4 separate regions of the Homo sapiens genome follow, and regions 2, 3 and 4 are each linked to region 1. The links are contacts of gene promoters, found by promoter capture Hi-C in blood cells and fetal thymus (Javierre and others, 2016). All regions are on one chromosome and are shown on one strand. Each heading gives the region's core, a stretch centred on a gene start or on the middle of the fragment in contact. The rest is flanking DNA. Distances are from core to core; before and after follow the strand shown. Region 1 holds the start of FABP4 (fatty acid binding protein 4). Region 2 has its middle 6.0 kb from the start of LNMICC. Region 3 has its middle 10 kb from the start of FABP5. Region 4 has its middle 31 kb from the start of LNMICC.

Region 1 (5,273 bases), core at 2,355-4,854:
ACTCTTAACAAGTGATCATATGAAAGGTCTTCCTGTGGACTCAACTACCTTCTCACATCTTACTTCTCTCATTGCTGTTTAAGTTACCAAGATCCTTTACTATAAGTTACTACTATTCTTGTTTATATGAACTCTAAAAGAGCCAATAGTTGTTTCTAGAAAATCTCAACTACGCCATTTCTCCAACGATGATCAGGCACTGAATATGCTGGTATAGAAGATGAGGCTACTGGCCTACAAATACATTCTTCAAGGTTTTTTTTGTTGTTTTTTATAGGCGTGCTGGTGGACTCTCACTAACCCGTCGAAGAAGGATTTCCTTCAGGCGTTTTACTGAATATATAATTACTTTGTATCTAACAATGAATTAATCTGAACAAAAGTCTCTTCCTTAATGGACCTTGGACTTTGCTCACCAGGAACATATATCTGTATATGTCAGGGTGGCTGTGTTTGGGTGAAATTGTTCTGAAAGGTAATGGAACCAGCAGCTCCCGCAGTTTTCTGTCCCGTATACAGTCTCTTTCCTGATCTTCCTGTGGCTGTCTTCTTCTCATCATTCAGCTAACAGCTCAATTATCTACCTTCTTTAACAGACTTTCCCGGATTGCCCCATCTAGTGCTCCAACCCTCACAGTGGTCATTACATCAGAGTACCCCATTCTGTTTGCTCTAAAACACAGCACTACCTGTGATTGGCTTATTTATTTCATATTTCATACACAAGGTCTCTTTGTATATGACCTTCTCCAGTATTAGAATATAAGCTCATTGAGAGCAAGCAAATGCCTGCCCTGGCTGGCTCACTGTTGAATCCGCATTGGTTAGCACAATGCCTGATCACATGTTGAATAAATAAGCGAAGCTTGCTGTTACCATGGTACTCTAAAACTTCACTGCCCAAGAGAAATATAATGTAAGCCACATATATAATCTAAAATTTTCTAGCAGCCACATAAGGAAAGTAAAAAAGAAATAGGTTAAATTAATTTTCGTAATACATTCTATTTAACCTAACATATCGAAAATGTTGTCATTTCAACATGTAATCAATGTAAGAAAATGAATAATATAGGATATATTTGTATATTGTCTTCAAAATCTGGTATATATTTTATACTAACAGTTCATCTCAATTCAGATTCTAAATTTTCTTTTGAAATACTTGTCCAACATTTAGATTTCATAAAATTTACAATTGAAAAAGTAGATTGACATAGCCACATTGGTTCAAACATATTTAAAAGTTTTTCAGTAACTGAATTGAGGATCATTTCTTTCATTTTAATTAAAATTAAGTAAAATTAAAAATTCAATTTCTCAGTCATACTAGCCACATTTTAAGAGCCACATGTGACCGGAGATTACACTACCAGAGAGTCAATCTCTAAAACAATTATTCACAATAAAAAAGTCACGGAATCAACCTAAGTGTCCATCAGTGGATGACTGGATGAAGACAATGTGATATATATTTACCATGGAATACCACTCAGCCATAAAAAGGGATGAGATCATTTCTTTTGCAGCAACATAGGTGAAACTGGAGACCATTATCTTAAGTGAAATAAATCAGAAACAGAAAGTCAAATACCACATATTCTCACTTATAAGTGGGAGCTAAACAATGTGTACACACAGACGTACAGAGTGGCATAATAGACAATTGGAGACTCCAAAAGGTGGGAAGGTGGGAAGGTGGGAGGGGGCAAGGGATAAGAAATTACCTATCAGGGCCGGGCACAGTGGCTCACGCCTGTAATCCCAGCACTTTGGGAGACTGAGGCGAGTGGGTCACCTGAGGTCAGGAGTTCAAGACCAGCCTGGCCAACATGGCGAAACCCTGTCTCTACTAAAAATATGAGAAAAAAAATTATCCAGGCATGTGGTGGGCACCTGTAATCCCCGCTACTAGGGAGGCTGAGGTAGGAGAATCGCTTGAACCTGGGAGGCAGAGGTTGCAGTGAGCCAAGATCGCGCCACTGCATTCCAGCCTGGACAATAAAATCAAAACTCCATCTCAAAAAAAAAAAAAAAAAAGAAAGAAATTACCAATTGAGTACAATATACACTATTTGGGTGATGATTACACTAAAAGTCCAGACTTTATTACAACTCAATATACATATGTAACAAAAATGCACATGTAGTCCGAAATCTATAGAAACAAAAATTTTAAAAAACCAAATTGCAGTGTTAGAATACACATAGTATGTATTCAAATTCAATCATTTAAAAACCTGTAGGAAGCAAATTAATTTAAAACATTATCAAAAACATCCCTCTATTAAGATTTGTCACTTTTATTTACTTTCCATCTGAACAGTCTTATTCAATGGGAAACAGGTGGATCACTAATAGCAAGCCTACCTGGATGGTACATCACCACAGTCTGTGTATCTATGCAACAGTCCAGAGTAGATGAGCGTTATTACTGTGCCATTAACAAATGCAAAACCTAACTTTATCAGGCTTTCATAGCAACTTGCTTTCCTACAGAAAATCCTGTTGCTTACAGAATTTCCTGCCACAAACATTTTTGGGAAGCCCTCAGGACACTTACACAGGCTTGTGAATCAATCACATGCTCAGCAGGTACTGTTCAGTGGGATACACAGTGTAGCGATGCATCACTCTGAAATATTTTAGTTTCTTTTTTTCCCCTAAATCTGGGTATGTTCGTGGGAATTTGCAGCACATGTGAACAACTTCTGTCATTCTTGCATGAGGCAAAGGGAATTGAAAACCACGATTACTTTAGAAAACTAGTTTCACAGATTGGTCACTGTATAAAAGAAGGATATTGGTTTTGGTAGCTTGTGACCACACACCATTTCTGATCTGAATAAATTCAGAACTTATAATACAGTTCAGAAATTGAATGCAGTTTCTCAATATGAGGAAAGTATTTTAGAATAAGGCCTATTTTTCAAAGGATCTGTGGAAATCAATGCTATGCTCTCATTTAGGAGATGGAAAGAGTGAGGTTAAATTATCATTTCGATTAAATCTACAGTCCAGATTACTGGTGGATGAATTGAATGTACTTTTTTATTCATATAAAACATTTGAAATCAGAAATCTGGAGTACTTTTAAATCCCATTATTTATTTTGTTTTAATCGCCAGGTAATTCCTGAGACAGGAGTGTCCCGAAGAGCCTTTGCAATTATGTAAGAATCTCCGAGGCAGTTCTTATGTTCCTCAATTCAAAAGAACCACATAACTGCAATTTAAATAACACCCCACACACACACACAAAATAAGGTCGAAGTTTATCTCAAAATAATTTCCCCTCTCTACACTGGGATAAATATGTATAGGAATAATAGGGGGAAATTCAGTGCACTGAGCATTAAGCTGTCAAAACAGGAATGTTTAAAATATCCTGTTAGTGGTTTAAAAATAATTTGTACTCTAAGTCCAGTGACTATTTGCCAGGGAGAACCAAAGTTGAGAAATTTCTATTAAAAACATGACTCAGAGAAAAAAATGCAGAGGCCGGTAATGAAGGAAATGATTGGATCTCATTCCCAATTGGTCATTCCTAAGATCACATGTTCTGAGCATCTTTAAAAGGAAGTTATCTGGACTCAAGAGGGTCACAGCACCCTCCTGAAAACTGCAGCTTCCTTCTCACCTTGAAGAATAATCCTAGAAAACTCACAAAATGTGTGATGCTTTTGTAGGTACCTGGAAACTTGTCTCCAGTGAAAACTTTGATGATTATATGAAAGAAGTAGGTAAGGAAATGCGTTGTGGAATGACTGGATTTATAATATTTTCTTTTGGGAAAAAGAGTTTACAGCTGTGTTTATAGCAATGTCTGGAAGCCCTGGCCAGAAATGAAAAATGCTGCTTTCTATAGAGAGGCTGCACACATAGCAAGTGATAATCATTTGTTTCTAGAGAAATTCTGAACCAAAGCTACAACTAATGTTTCCTAAAGGTGTACCAATATAAAAAGGTGTCTAAATGGAATGTTTATTGTCTTTAGAAATGATAAGATTTGACTTTATTTGAAAAACTTGGGTATCCTTGGTTTACTTAGCTCTTTGCCTGTTTCTCTTTCATCCCCTTTTGCATGTAAATTAAGCAATAACTTGGAAAAAAGTTAGTATGCAATAATTTTCATTTCAAACTGAAAGCACTCTAGTTCCCTTAATGCAAGGTTCTTTTTCAGTAACCGTATGTTAGCCAATTATTTTCTTGTCTCAATGTTAATCTATTAAAATATGTGGTTGTTTTATGATAGACAAAAATTTTAATTTCAGAAAATATGTTTCTTAAATGGCTTAAATACTTCCTTTGACTAGAAATGACATAGTATGCCATAGAATTATCAACCAATTTAAAAGGAGAATGTTACGCATATAACATACCTCTTCTTTGATAGTAGAGGTTTTTAATTTTTTAGACGCTGTTAACTGTCAGCATGTCATTGGATGAATGTCTCTCAGATAACTATGGAGGTAAATCAGAAAAGACAACTTCTCACTCAGGCAGCTTCTACTTTGAAAACCTTTCTCCCTCAACCCCATGCATGACAGTCCAATAAAGTCAGAACTGGGGTTAGCAAACTGGGGAGGAATTTTATGCAATCTTAGGGTTTAGAATGTAATCATTAAATCGCAAAACACTTAACCCTCCTGTAAATTATACAGTATATATTTTTTTGCTTGTCTGTAACTATGTTTCTTGTTTTTAGATGATAGGGAAATTGGTGACTTCAGCATGAGAGAGACTTTCTAGAATAAACTAGAGTGATTCAATAAACTAATTAATATGCACTGATGCAGAAAAGCCAGGATTTGGGGCCATTTAACTATTTATTTTTAGAAAAATGTTATACTTTTAATATTTATATTTTCTAATAATACTGTGTTTTTAAATTATAAAGGGCTGATTATAATTAAAGTCAATAAAACACCTTCTGCATGAAATTAGCTGCTGTAATTGAGGATGAGTGGGCAGGTATTGTCTTCATCATCAAATAAAAGCAAAATCAAGCAAATGGAGACTGGTTTTTCCCAAGGTCAGTCATTCTAGAATCACACTCAGTTTTGCCTGCATTCACGAAGTGGACTCACTTCATACATTTAATGTTATATTTTGTAACTGAGCCAGGACATGAAGACACACCTGTGGCCATTTTTCAGACAGACAGCCAAATCGGAGCCTCAGCATTACTTATTTTGCGCCATATATCTCTCCCAGTTCTTCCCAATTTCTAACCTTTGGTTGCCTTTAGTCAAAGAAAGAGCTTAGATTTAC
Region 2 (5,219 bases), core at 891-3,390, 200 kb after region 1:
TTATATCCGGTTTTTCCACTTTACAGTGAATTACGAGTCTTTTTTCCAAGCTATTGTCTTTTTGTTGTTTTAATTCCAGTTAATATTTTATTGTATGGCTATATTATGATTATTTAACCAGTCTTCTATTTCTAGAAAGTTATATGCTTGCCAATCATCTGCTAATGTAAAAGCACTTGGATGAACATCTTTATAACCCAATTTTCAACATTCAGAGAACTTTCTCCAAGACAGTAGAGGATGGAGTCAGCCTAGCTACCATCAGACAAAGGCCCAATTGTTTCCTATGTTGCCGAAAGCACAGCTCAGCCTCTCAGCCATGTCTCCCAGACCTGCAATTAATATTCCAGGGTAAAACTCACCTGTCAGTTGGGGTTGCTTCTCTGGATTCCCAGAAATAGGCCACATAATTCCTCATGATTTTGTCAGCTCTTTGTCACTTTAAGGCAATTAAAAAATTTTTTTTTGTCCAATATTTTCAGTGTCTTTGGTAAGTTATTCCAAATATCAGTATCTCATTGCAAAAGTGAAAATAGAACATCTTTGTTAAAATAGTCATCTCTCACTTCCTCCTTGACACCTTCTGTAGTTTCTCTGGGTCCTTAGATAAACCTAAATCCCTCACTAGGAGCTACAAGGTCTTACACACTCTGCTTCTCACCTAAATCTCAGACCGCATCTTGCTCCACATTGCTCCTCTTTCAATAATCTTCTGTCATTCTGTGGTTCTGTCGGTCTCCACCTCAGGGCTTCTGCAGCGGCTAGTCCCTCTGCCTAGAACACTGTTGCTCCAGATGTTCACTTGCCTACCTTCTCTCATTATTCAGGTCTCAGTTCAAACACTACCTTCTCTAAGAGGCCTTCCCTGACCGTCCCATATAAAGTATTAAGTTGGTGCAAACATAATTGCAGTTTTTGCACTTCAAAGTAATGACAAAAAGCTGCAATTACTTTTGCACCAACCTAACAGATTCCACCCCATTCGCTCCTTATCACTCTACTTGGTTTTATATTTTTCTAGCTGCACTTATCACCCTGCCATTTGTTTGAATCATGTATGTTCCATCATGCTATGGTTTGACTGTGTCCGCCAAAGTTCATGTGCTGGAAATGTAATCCCTAATGCAACACCGATGGGAGGTGGGACCTAATAAGTGTTGATTAGGTCACAATGGCTCTGCCTTCATGAATGGATTAATGTCGTTATCTCTGGAGTGGGGTGGTTATCGCAGGAGTGGGCTTGTTGTGAAAGTGACTTCAGCCCCCTCTTGCTCTCTTACTCTCTCTCATCCTGCCACCTTCCGTCTTGGGATGACGTATCAAGAAGGCCCTCACCAGATTCAGGACCCTCAATTTTCGACTTCCCAGCCTCGAGAAATATAACAGATAAATTTCTGTTCTTTATAAATTACCCAGTCTCAAGTATTCTGTCACAGCAGCACAGGACAGACTAAGACACATCATCTCACACTAGAATGTCAGTTCCATCAGAAAGAACCTTCACCCTACTCTATCTTGTTCACCATGCCATGTGTTGCCAGCACCTTTAAAAAACGCTCCTTAAGAATTATTCTCTTTTCAGACATTTTCCAAGCGTACAGTATGGGAGAAGGAGGTATAAGGGGAGGAGGCAATGGGAGGAGGAGAGAGACTGGATCAAAAGCAAATGTTTACATATGATCTGGTGACAGAGCCTGGCACACCAGATATCATAAGACTACAATTATTTTCCAGTTGCTGTGTGACTAGCTGCAAGTCATACCACTTTGCCTTTCACAGCATTTCAGAATATGTGTCAGCTTTCCAAACCAGTTCACCGGCTTCATCAGCCCTTTCTACCAACTCACTTCACCCATGACCCATCAAATGGCAGTGAATTCTAAGAGGGCAGTGTTAGAAAAGGAGAACAGAGAATTCATGAAACCCAGGGAAACACTATAATTATTCTCATGAACTTAAAAGTGAATTCAAAATGGAACAGACATTAAGAATCATTGGTTTATAAGCAGCAAGAATTGAGTAATAGTCCAAGTTGACTTGGCAGCCTCAAAATCTAGGTGCCAAAAAGATGGTTCTCAACCTTTTCATGGTCATAGCACAATTTCAAATACCAGAATTTTGAGAAAACAGTTAAAGAGATTGAGACTCAAGAAATCATTGACTATGTTAGCAATAGATGCATCATAATCACTACTAGCATAAAACAATGCCTCATTTTGCCTGCAAAGATCTTACAGTGGCAATTCACTACAACCATTCATCCGCAGGCACTTGGACTTCACTTGTCGAGAACAGTTGATGCCCTCATGGTGCTCAAGGACATAATACAAAAGTTGTCATCTTTCTCCTGTATATTTTTCTTTAGTGAGAGGTTGACTTGTGTTAAACTGTCTTTCTTCTAGCAAATCATATTAATCTTCACCATGTTCCACAAACACCTCAGGTCCAGTTCTGCTTGACAGGCATTGCCTGTTAGCAGAGTGCTTGGCTGCAGTAAAATAAATTGTATACATCGATCAAAACTGGGTAGCCTATTTTTTGGTAGGCCAGGGTGCCATGACATGCCAGTTTGGAAGCACGGCTGAATTCCTTACTTCCTATTTCAAACATACTTTTCCCACAGTCATCAAGCGCACTATTCTGGGGTAAAAGACCTGATTAAAGTTGAATGGTTTGCATAAAGGTAAGAAATATGGTTTTAATAAATAAAGTCAATTGAAGCAATATCATGATGGGTCTTAAATAATATAAAAATGTGTTAAATAGATGTCAGGAATCCATTAATTTATTAACAAATTCGTTCATTTAACAAATATGTATGGAGCATCTTTTGTATGTCGGGTTCTCCCCTAATTGCATACTAGAGAGTGTGTGCACTGTTAGAAACAAAGTCCCTTCTTCATAAGACTTACTTTCTATTGGGGAGACAGATAATAACCAAAAAAATTAAGAAATAAAACAAGTGAATGTATAGTTAGAATTGATGATAAAGGTGAGGACTATGAGAAAAAATAAAGCAGCTTAGGGGAATTGAGAATGTGGGGGAGGAGTGGCAGCTCTGATGCATCATGTGGTCTGGGAATGACTCACTGTTAGGGTGACCTTTAGGGAAGAGACTCTAAGGAGTGGAGAAAGTGTGGGCTGCAGCCTCCTTGGGGAAGAGTGTTTCAGGCAGAGGAAACAGGTGCAAAGGCCCTGAGGCAAAAGCACATTTGCATCAACATTGGCCAAGGTCTGAGGGAATGTTTGAGAGGACAGTGGCAGGAAATGAAATCAGGAGGGGGCACTGGGAAGGTGGAAGACACAGGCAAATCACATAGAAACTCTATGAAGATCTTAGCTTCTACTCCTAGGGAAGTAAGAGGCCAGTGGAGGGTTCTCAACAGAGGAGTGACATGTTGTAACCTGTGTTTTAAAATGATAGCTTTGGGAGAATAAAGTTGCAAAATGGCAGAGAAGGGGAGAGATGATGGTGATGACTGAATGAGGGTGGTATCTGTGAAAGAAGTGACAAGCAATTGAATTCTAGGTATATTCTGATGGTAAAACAAATAATTTGCTAATTGATTAGATATAAGATGGTAAAGAAATAATCAAAGATTAGACATTTAGCCTGAACACTGGAAACATGACATTCCCATGAATTGAGAGGGAGAATACTGCAAGAGGAATCGGTTTGAAAGTTTAAAACATAAGAATTTCAATTTTGGAAACATCCCATGCTGTCCAAATTAACAGTCACTAACTACATGTGGGTACTTAAATTTACATTTTAGTTAATAAAAACTAAATTAAAAATTCAGTTCCTCAGTTGCACTCACCACATTTCAAATGCTCAATACTCACTTACGGCTAGTGGCTACCTTAGTGGCCAGTGCAGATATTAAAGAGCATTTCCATGTCACATAAAGTTATATTGGGAAGTGCTGGTGGGACATTAAGCCTTTACTATATTATGGGTCCCGTGCTAACTTTCATTTTTGTGTCGTATTTTTTATTGGACAGTGTTGATTTAGACTTCCTTTCTATGTGAATTTCAATCATGCTTATTTCAGTCTCTATGCTAGGGTTCTTCATTCATCCACATTTTCCACTTCTCATAATCATGTTTGGTTCAGAGAGAATGTCAATAAATATACATAATTATGAGAAGCGGAAAATGTGGATGAAAGAACCCCAGCATAGAGACTGAAATAAGCATGACTGAAATGAAAGTACATGCAATTTTTACATTTTCCCTAGAAACATTAAAAAAGTAAATGGGTAAAATTAACTTTACAAATATATATTTACTTTAATATGCAATCAATACCAAAAAAATCATTAATAAGGCATTTTACTTTTTGTACTAAGCCTTTGAAATCCCCTATGTACGTCTCAATTCAGACTAGTCACACTTCAAAGGTTCAATAGCCATGTGTGACTCATAGCTATGTATTGGACAGGACAGGACTAGAGTATCAGCGAGTTGAAAACCTCCACTGACTGCTAGCTGTGGCTAATTCTTAAAAGAATAGGCTTACCAGTTAACATTTCTGCACGTGGAGGGTGGTTTCAGAAGTCTCACTTAGTATACGTAGGGACTTTAGACAAGATCTGCACAAGCTGCAAAGAGACAGCATTGCAGAATGACTGAACACATTGAGTAGACTTGATGAGATATAGGTTGTCGGTCCAGCTCTACTACCTCCTGTCCTTGAACTAGTTACTTGCAGAATGGTTGTAGTTGTACCAGCCCTTTAACGTCTGCCCTAAAGATCATTTATGCGAAGCTTTAGCTCAGGGCCAACAGCCTGCTTCTCCAAATGTGAACTGTGGATATTTGTGTTGGGGACCGAGAAACAGAGATTCACTAGAATTCTGGTTATTCCATACATAGTATTACTTATATTTGTATATAAATACACACAAAAAGTATTTTAGTCAATGCTGGTTAATTAAACCTTTGCTCTAATTTGAATAATAAAGTTTATGTTGTAGTCACCTTTTATTGAGAATGGTCTCTGCCAGAAATTCAAGATTCCTGAATTCATACAAAGTTCAAATAGTATAGGGCAAGCTTAAATAATTGGTACAGTATTTCCTGTAAGAGTAGCTATCTATATAAATTGCTAGAGTGTCATCTCAATATAGTACCCTCAAGACTGCCCCAACCTTTACTCAATTAATAATTATTAAAACTCATCACTAATTTCCTGTAAGGTTTAAAGAATGCATAC
Region 3 (4,708 bases), core at 2-2,501, 210 kb after region 1:
TTTCTTGCCACACATACTCTGATGCCCTTGTCTTTCAGTAGAAACTGTACGTGGTTCCTGGGGAGAAGACTATGGTTCTATATGACAAGTTTTATTTGTTGCATGTTGTAAAATATTATCACTTCTGCAGCTATGTTATCAGGACATCATATAAGTGTCAAGACAGAATAGGACCAGCTTCTATAAACAGGAAAGAATGCCATTTACTGGTGTCCCTTTGAATGTATTTAGCATATGAAAGTTACTCTATGTTATGTACTATATGGGAAAAAAAGCTTTTTTCTCAAATTAAATACCTTTCCATTTTATTGCATTTTTGCATTTTGTTGACATAATCATCTCTGAGATATAGTCACAGAAACAAAAGTTTGACCCCAATATGAAACAGAAAATCAAAACTGCCTAATATTCCATTTGAAAGCATGTGGTGATACAAATCATAACTAGAAACAAAATAAAAATCACATAAGAGTTCAACAAAACATTTATTTGTCATTTTCCAATCAACGTGAATAGTGATGGTAAATCCTGCACACACAAAAAAGTATTGGGTTTCCTTTTGCTTCGTGCTTTACTAAGCAGGTGTCAGCTGCTTCTGGTTTTCCAAGGCAAGGCTCTAGTTCTTTCACACCCAAAGCCTTAGGGCCTCAGTACTCTGAGGGAACCTAACTAGTCCAAGTCACTAATCCACATGAACAAGTAGAACTTGATCTTTGCTGCCCACACCCAAGACATACAGTTTTTAATTGCGTATTTGGCAGTAATTCTTGGTCAGACGTGATCTCAGAACAATGAGTTGTCACTTGAGCAGACATATTGGTAAATTCTTCAAAGTTGTATAGTTTCATTTCTGAAAATAGATTAGTGGCTTGGATTTAGGACTAAAGGAGAATCAAAATCCTAGAGTTTAAAGGAATTTTAGATGTCTTCTAATTCAGCTAAAACTCAATCAAGATTCCTTTGACAAAAGATTTTCTGAGTAAGCAAAAATAGAATTGCAAATTATAGGTTTATCAAGAACACCAAATATATTCCATAATCATTTAAGTATTCTTTAAAATACTTTATGGGAAGAAAAATGAAAATGAAAAAATAAGGGGATTAACCTAAAAATTAAATTATTTCTTTCAATTCGTATTTGGCCTATGAAAATAATAGTTATTAATTCATAGTTCAAACAATACTAGAGTATGGATTATAAATAGACATGAGAAATGTAACACTGCAAGTAATTGTGCCATTGCTTGGCCTCCCCCCTTGTTCCTCAAGAAAACCATATGTCATAATAATATGTCATATACTTACACAAACATGCATAATTTGCTCACTATTTAAACTGTAGCAGAGCCTTTTTGGTCTCTTAGAAAATCTTAAAAAGTATATATCTTTTTTTAAAGTATTTTTTAAAAAACTATTATCTTTGTGTCCTCAATTCCCCTTTGTCTTCACTTGAATTGAAAACAATCTTAAAAGATTTTTTAAGAATCAAATTGGACATAGCAACTTTTGTCTCTATTATAATTCTAGGCCATAACGTTAAAATAGTCAGGCAAATAAATATTAGTATCATTTGTAAAACAATAATTTTATTAAATATCTGCTCTAAATACATAAAAAGTAAAAGCAGTGACCTAGGATATAGGAAACCCTTGTTCTAGACTTTGCTACAAAATACCTGTTTAAATTTAAATTTTTGTTTTCTCATCTGTAACCTTAGAAGAACAGAAGAAATTAAAATTTCCTGTGAGGAGTTTTTTGAATACAGACTCCATTATCAAACAAATTAGGGAAATTGGGCATACCATGATTCCCATTGGATATTTCCAGCTTGTATGAGCATACTAACAATGCCAGGAAATCTTGAACTTAAAAAATACATTTAACATTTTAAGAGCAACATCTCTACAAATGGATTGATTGCAAAACCTGCCTTGTTTGCTGCCATCCTTTTAGCAGCACTTAGAATGCTCTGAAGAATACTCTAGGAAAATGCTGATGATAATCTTCAGCCTCCAAAGTATTTGATTCTATCACCAAGACAATGTTCTGCGGGAATGAAGAAATATAGTACATAACTAGTAATGGCCTCGAAGAACATACATATCAGTTGTTCATGGAGGACATCTATGCATGAAAACTTACCTCTTAATAAAGGTCTTCTGGACATGTTCTATTGAGGTTCGGAAAGTGAATGCAGACCAAAGGTACAGTATTTAGAGAAAGCTTTGTATATATGACCTGGGAGGCCAAAGTAGATGCCCCTTTATCAATTAAACCAGACCTTAAAGTTGAAACAAGTTCCCTACAGGTTGAGGGTTCAGGGCTCAGCTAGCATGGTATTGTCCTAAATTCCTACAGCTTTAAGGAAAACCACACCTTTGCTAAACTCCTTAACAACAAGAGGAATCAGGCAAATTATCAGAACCTTCTTAACTCTGATTTACATCCCAGACCACCACAACTTTAATTGAACAGAGGACACACCTTACATTCTTTCCTGATAAGCGACTGCAGGCCTCAAGCCAGTTTCAGCCAGTTTAATAGAGATGCACAAACTGTCTTTGTGTCCTATAGTTCACCTTTTGATGTAAAGAGCAAAGTCCACCCCATTTTAATGCTAAAATCCCGCCCCAAAGTGAACATGGGATATATGTTCCATACATTTTTACCCATTGCTCATGCACCTAACTCCTCTGAGATATGGATAGCTTTTCCCCAAACCTGCAGAAGCATAAGAGACTTGGAGTTTAAAGGGAGGGACTATTAAAAAGAGAAAAGAGAGGAGGTGCATTAAGATGTTTTTCTTCATGTTTCATCCAGGTACATGTTACCCATTGGAATCAAGATATAACCTGACCACAGGGCCAGAGGACACTTACCCAGGGCCAGATTTTTGTGGGGCAGAGCCTGTATTCTGAGGCACCTATATATGTCTGACTCTATTGCATGATACAGGCCCTGTGAGGCATAAAATTCAACCTGCTTTTTCCCTTTTCAAAGAGAGAGCACCTTTGGTCCACAGCGGACACTGACTCTGGTTTGCAAACTGATATTGTCAATAATGCTCTCCTTTCTACTATGTAGCTATCCTGGTGGTCTTTCGAATGACAGGTAGAATATTGGACTGAGTTGGTTTACTTCTGAGATCTGCACCCTGAGCTTTGAGTAATAGGGAACAAAACTGATGCAGGGAGGAAGAAACCAGGTTACTTAGACACCTGAACTTTTCTGTTGATGACAAGAAGAGAAAGGTGACCAGTGGAGGGGAATAGGAATCAAATGCATCTTCTTCCAAGCAGTTACGAGTACAGAGAGATTTTCTTTTCCTTCTAAAGGTGCATCAGGATATAGGCTCTGCCCCAGTAGAGATCAGGCCTTTGGTAAGCATCCCCTGGCTTTGTGGCCAGGTTATACCTTTTTTTTTTTTTTTTAGACAGAGTCTCGCTCTGTCACCCAGGCTGGAGTGCAGTGGCATCATCTCGGCTCACTGCAACCTCCACCTTCCAGATTCAAGTGATTCTTCTGTCTCAGCCTCCTGAGTAGCTGGGACTACAGGCATGCACCACCATGCCTGGCTAATTTTTGTATTTTTAGTGGAGACGGGGTTTCACCATATTGGCCAGGCCAGTCTTGAACTCCTAACCTAGTGATCCACCCGCCTCAGCCTCCCAAAGTGCTGGGATTACAGGTGTGAGCCACCACGCCTGGTCACCAGGTTATGTCTTAATTCCAGTGGACAACATGTTATACTAGAATGAAACATGAAAAACAACAACCTAATGTACCTCCTGTCTTTTCCCTTTTCAATAATCCTTTCCTTTAAATTCCAAGTCTCTTATGCTGTCCTTGGGGACATAGGAACCTGAAGACTAATTCATTCTAATGTATGAAGTGATTTAATTCATATTTGACTATCTGGGAGGTATTTGCATTTTAAAAGGAGAAGAAGGAGCAATGTTTAAACTGAAGGCTGAATCCCTAACGATGGCATTTCAGACAGTAGCACTCACCTATGTATAATGACATTGGTGAGCAGGTGACGGAAGCCATTTGTGGAGGTAGAGAGAAAGTAGTCAGAAGACACAGAGCAAAAACTGATTTTCAAAGAAAGTGAGAAGGGGGAAAAGTACAGCAAAGTCACTAGCTACTTCAGTAGGTGGTCTTGGTATTGTATTAAACTGCTATTCCAAAGCCAAGTGTTCTATTTCTCAAGAAGTAAGCAATTAGGCACCGATTTTTCACCTAGATGCATTAAACCTACCTAATTTATATACTTACATGTGGGAAGTGTAGTAAATGGTTTCTTTCAGATATGTCTATAATAACTTCACAGAGCATTTCTTTAACAACCAAAAAGAAAACAACATTGATGAAAACAACTAAAAAACCTTATTATGCATTTTACTTATTTGTCATCTAACAAAAGGATAAACTATAATGGTTAAAATTTCAAATATGTGCCATTGACTGTTTTCAGACTCAGATTCCTGAGCAAATTTTGTAATACAACTTTTATTATTGTTGCTCAGCCCCCTTCTGCCAGCAGTATCTTGCTGAAGGAAGAGTTATAAGCAGAGAAATAAGAGTTCTCTGAGTCAAGGAAACTACAAGTGAGAAATCCTCAGTGATGAGGAGAGGAAGTTCTCCAAAGAGTCCACGATAACATCCGATAGAAAAACATAGCTTTAAAAACTCACTAAGTACAAAA
Region 4 (4,530 bases), core at 1,775-4,274, 170 kb after region 1:
TACAGAATACTTGTGGTATTAAAGCATCTAATGGGGAAGGAGTGACATGGAAGAAAATGTCTAACATGGCTCTTGTGGGGTACAAAATATGGAGAGATGAAAAGAAGACTGAAAAACACTGACTTCATAGTTTTCTATTTTTTAAAAATCTGTGTGTCAGTGCCATTCTCCCATGAAGAGTCCTTATTCCAGTTCTTAGAAGAATTTCCATTTTTTCTCGGATTAAGGAAAATTCAGTGAGAATCACTCATGTGAGGGACAAATGAAGACAAAGAACTTTTTCCAGACTCTGACCCGGTGAGGAGAGAGAAGTTCTGGAAGAGCAAGCCTGAGTGAGGTGCCAAGGAAGTCAAGACACTTTCTTAGGTCCCAGATATGTCAAGTCCATTTCTTGTACTGCAGCAGATGCTTTGCCACTCGACCCCCGCCCCCCGCCATTTCTTCTGTCTTTTCCCTGCTATTCTTCCAGATAATTCCTTCATTTTATTATAAAATAAAGTATTAAACATCACTGACCTAAAAGTCCCAGAAAAGACTACTGGACTCATTTAGAACCAAGCAAAATGTAAATCAACATTTACATTTTTTTCTTCCTTTGTAAAATAATCCTGACAACTTCCCCTTTATTCAAAAGTCCTAGATGGGTCTCAGAAGCCGTGTGCTAGGGTTTGAATGCCCCTCCAAAACTCATGTTCAAATTTCATTGCTATTGTGATGGTGTTAGTAGGTGGGATCTTTAAGAGGTGATTAGGTCATGAAGGCTCTGCCCTCCAAAACAAATTAATGCCGTGATTGTGGGAGTTGGTTAGTTATCAAGGGAATGGGCTTCTGATGAAAAGATAAGTTCAGCCCCATTTTCTCTCTGTCTTGCATGCTCTTACCCTCTCATGCACTCTGTCATCACCATGTGATACTTTCTGCCATGTTACAACACAGCAAGAAGGCACTCAGCATATGTGGCCCCTCAACCTTTGACTTTCCAACCTCCAGAACCATGAACCAAACAAATCTCTTTTATTTATAAAACACCACCCAGTCTGTGGTATTCTGTTATAGGAGCAGAAAAAGCTAAGACTCCGTAGGGCTCTGGAGGGGATAGAGACATTCTCACACCTGTCAAAAGAGGAACAAGAACCAATAGTGGTTGTAACACACTGACAGCCTTTCTGTTGAGGCACGTACTGGGAAGCAGCCCAGGAAGCAGATCACAGGGGTCCAAGTGGGACTTGTGCAACCCAGAAACATTTCCCCACTGCCCAGGGCTCCAAATGTATGGGTGGACAGTATGCTACCTCCAGGCTTGTCAGGAACTTAGTCTGCTAGCAGTCTAATGCAATACCTCATTTTCTATTTCTGATTTAAATACAAACATTCAAATATTTTATACTTAAATATTAAACAGCAGTTTTCATTGAGAGATTCAAAATTTGCAATTACCTATGAAATTTTGGACAGCCTGGGTCCCTGAAGGATTTCCCAGGCATTATCTTACTTATATTATGCCGGGGAGGAAGTGATGTAGATAAAGGTATCTGGGGTGTGAACTCCTACTCCTACCCCCAGGAAATCTGTGATCCATCAGCTAAAACTCCAGCCACTGTGTTAAACTATTTTCTCAGTGACATAAAAATTAGGCTCTTTTTCAAGAAATCAACAGGAAGAATAACATGTTTTTGTGCAGCAAGACTTGCTTTCAGTTCCACGATATTTTTTTTCTTTATCCAAAACCAAGAAAAAAAAAGTCTATTTTCAGGACATATTTTATTCCCATCCACAATTCTAGTGAGGAACAGCTATTTGTGGTGTCTGAATTTGATTCAGGGATCTGCAATCCACCTGTTCAAACTGCCTGGGCCCCTGACTTTGTTCCCTAAGGTTATTGTGACAGGTACACATACGATAACACAAAATAGCACCTGGTATGTAATAGATGCTCATTCAAAAACTATAGAATATCTGAACGTCCTCTCACATTACTCAAAGGAGGGGATACGGTTAGTTTATAAGAAAGACTAGAATCTAGTCATGCAGCGTGTATCAGCAAAGGCTCAACTCTGGATTGGTGCCCCTGCTTCATTTTTGCACTTTGAAGATGACGCATACTTTCTTCTTGGCTTAACTGTGGGTTTAAAATGACTTATTTTCTTTTTTATCCAGCATATTTAGGTGATTGAAGGTGAAAACCTGGAAAGCTTTCAGGAAATCTAGCCAACCAAATTACCAGCAACTAAGTTCAAAACCATGGTTTTGGATTGCTTATATTACCAGGGACAAAATGGCAGGTTGGTGGCAGGGATTCAGAACTTGGAGCTAAACAGCAAGTGAGTGGCGTGGGTACTGGACTTCAGCTGAAGCAGCAGGAGCTGACCTGCTTCTGTATTCGCTATACACTGCATATACTTCTCCAATCCACTGACACCTCCTGTTAATCTAGTTTACATCACAAAGTTGTATCCACATGTGTCATGATGTTCTTCCACTTACCCTAGGGCTTTCTGAAATAAGATTATAAGGTTCCAAGTTAAGCGTGGACTGAGCCTACAACTTCTATCATACATATCACATATGATATATCTATATTATATATAGATATATATCCCAATGATATATTATGATACATATTTTGATTTTATAAATAAATATGTGTGTGTATGTGCGTGTATATATTCCAAGGGTATATTTTCCAGACCCTGAACTGATTAACAGAGAGAAGTTCTGGAGGTCTTATTTCCCCACAACAGTAAAAAAAAAATGACAGTCTCTTGGGGTACTGCCATAATCTCAGGTTTCAGATTTTCAATAAACAACAAGTATTGGTTTGCAGGGCTGGAAAGTATTCAACAGCAAGCCTCTAATTATCAGAATCTACCTATCTCTTTCCTGAAAAAATTCTGGCCTTAAACCAGGGTCATACTTTCCTAAGAGCCAAGTGGGTGACCACATATTAATTGTGTCATATGAATAAAACCAATGATGAAGAAGCTGCAGAAATCTAATGGATATAGTTTGCTTCTATCTGCCAGCTGAAAATAAGTCCAAAAAGGTAGATGGCATGCATTATAAAGAGATGCTTAGATCAGCAATGGGAGAAAAAACGTTTTTCCAGGATGAGGGAAAAATGTGATAGGAAAGTACTTTATGAGTATAGTGTTTCTTGCTATTTTGTTCACTTCTAGTTGCTGTTCAGAAATTGTCCTTCAGGGATTTATAAGTTTTTGAGAGCACCTGGAATAGATCAGCTGATAAAGTGGAAAGCCACCATTTGGAACATAATTGGCAATTGGTAAATGAGAAGTATTTTAGATGGTTGTGTAACTGTTAAGTCTCCTTTTCATTGCAGTAATAAAAATATGTTATAGTTAACTTTAAAAAAGAGGTAATTCATAATAAAGACATAGGTTTTTGCATAGTCTTGCTTTGGCTATGCAGGCTCTTTTTGATTCCATATGGATTTTAGGATTTTATTTTTCTGGTTCTGTGAAGAATGGTGGTGGTATTTTGATGGGAATTGCATTGAATTTGTAGATTGCTTTTGGCAATATGGTCATTTTCACAATATTGGTTCCACCCATCCATGACCATGGGGTGTGTTTTCATTTGTTTGTGTCATCTATGCTTTCAGCAGTGTTTGTAGTTTTCCTTGTAGAGGTCTTTCACCTACTTGGTTAGGTATATTCCTAAGTATTTTATTTTATCATTTTGCAACTATTGTGAAGGGGGTTGAGTTCTTATTTGATTTGCAGCTTGGTCACTGTTGGTGTATAGCAGAGGTACTGATTTGTGTACATTGATTTTGTATCCTGAAACTTTGCTGAATTCATTTACCTGTTTTAGGAGCTTTTTGAATGAAGCTTTAGGGTTTTCTAAGTTTACGATCATATCATCAGCAAACAGTGAAAGTTTGACTTCCTCTTTACCAATTTGAATGCCCTTCATTGCTTTTTCTTGTCTGATTGCTCTGGCTAGGACTTCCAGTACTATGTTGAATAGAGTGGTGAAAGTGGGCATCCTTGTCTTGTTCCAGTTCTCAGGAGAAATGCTTTCAACTTTTCCTCATTCAGTATAATGTTGACTGTAAGTTTGTCATAGTTGGCTTTTTATTACATTGAGGTATGTCCCTTCTATGCCGATTTTGCTGAGGGTTTTAATTATAAAGGGATGCTGGATTTTGTTGAATGTTTTTCTGCATCTATGGAGATGATCATGTGATTTTTGCTTTTAATTCTGTTTATTTAAGGCATCACATTTATTGCCTTGCGTATGTTAAACCATCCCTGCATCCCTGGTATGAAACTCACTTGATCACGGTGAATTATCTTTTTGATATGCTATTGGATTCAGTTCACTAGTATTTTGTTGAGGATTTTTGCCTCTATGTTCACTAGGGATATTGGTCTGTAGTTTTCTTTTTTTGTTATATCCTTTCCTGGTTTTGCTATTGGAGTGATACTGGCTTCATAGAATGATTTAGGGGAGGATTCCCACTTTTTCTATCTTTTGGAGTAGTTTCATTCAGTAAGATTGGTACCA

The links. Contacts are between HindIII fragments. The CHiCAGO score rates a contact against its expected background, and 5 or more counts as called.
Region 2: a contact is called between a fragment that was not itself captured here and the fragment with the promoter of FABP4 in region 1, in 3 of 17 cell types (M2 macrophages, M0 macrophages and M1 macrophages). The highest score is 10.6, in M2 macrophages.
Region 3: a contact is called between a fragment that was not itself captured here and the fragment with the promoter of FABP4 in region 1, in 2 of 17 cell types (M0 macrophages and M2 macrophages). The highest score is 6.7, in M0 macrophages.
Region 4: a fragment that was not itself captured here is called in contact with the fragment with the promoter of FABP4 in region 1 in 2 of 17 cell types (M0 macrophages and M1 macrophages); the score reaches 6.0 in M0 macrophages.

Annotation. Positions count from the first base shown.
Region 1 is chr8:81,481,564-81,486,836 of GRCh38, reverse strand. It overlaps FABP4 (fatty acid binding protein 4), which reads left to right and starts at 3,604. Exons shown (of 4, transcript NM_001442.3): 1 at 3,604-3,742. The coding sequence starts at 3,670. All of the region lies in intron 1 of LOC101927118 (a long non-coding RNA gene), which reads right to left. The HindIII fragment of the contact is 8,539 bases long and covers 868-5,273 here.
Region 2 is chr8:81,284,784-81,290,002 of GRCh38, reverse strand. No RefSeq gene overlaps it. Among named protein-coding and RNA genes, the nearest start is that of LNMICC, 6.0 kb to the right of the region's middle. RefSeq lists an enhancer at 1,770-1,819. The HindIII fragment of the contact is 5,269 bases long and covers 1-4,774 here.
Region 3 is chr8:81,268,219-81,272,926 of GRCh38, reverse strand. No RefSeq gene overlaps it. Among named protein-coding and RNA genes, the nearest start is that of FABP5, 10 kb to the left of the region's middle. The HindIII fragment of the contact is 1,948 bases long and covers 278-2,225 here.
Region 4 is chr8:81,309,721-81,314,250 of GRCh38, reverse strand. No RefSeq gene overlaps it. Among named protein-coding and RNA genes, the nearest start is that of LNMICC, 31 kb to the right of the region's middle. RefSeq lists an enhancer at 832-1,041. The HindIII fragment of the contact is 1,659 bases long and covers 2,195-3,853 here.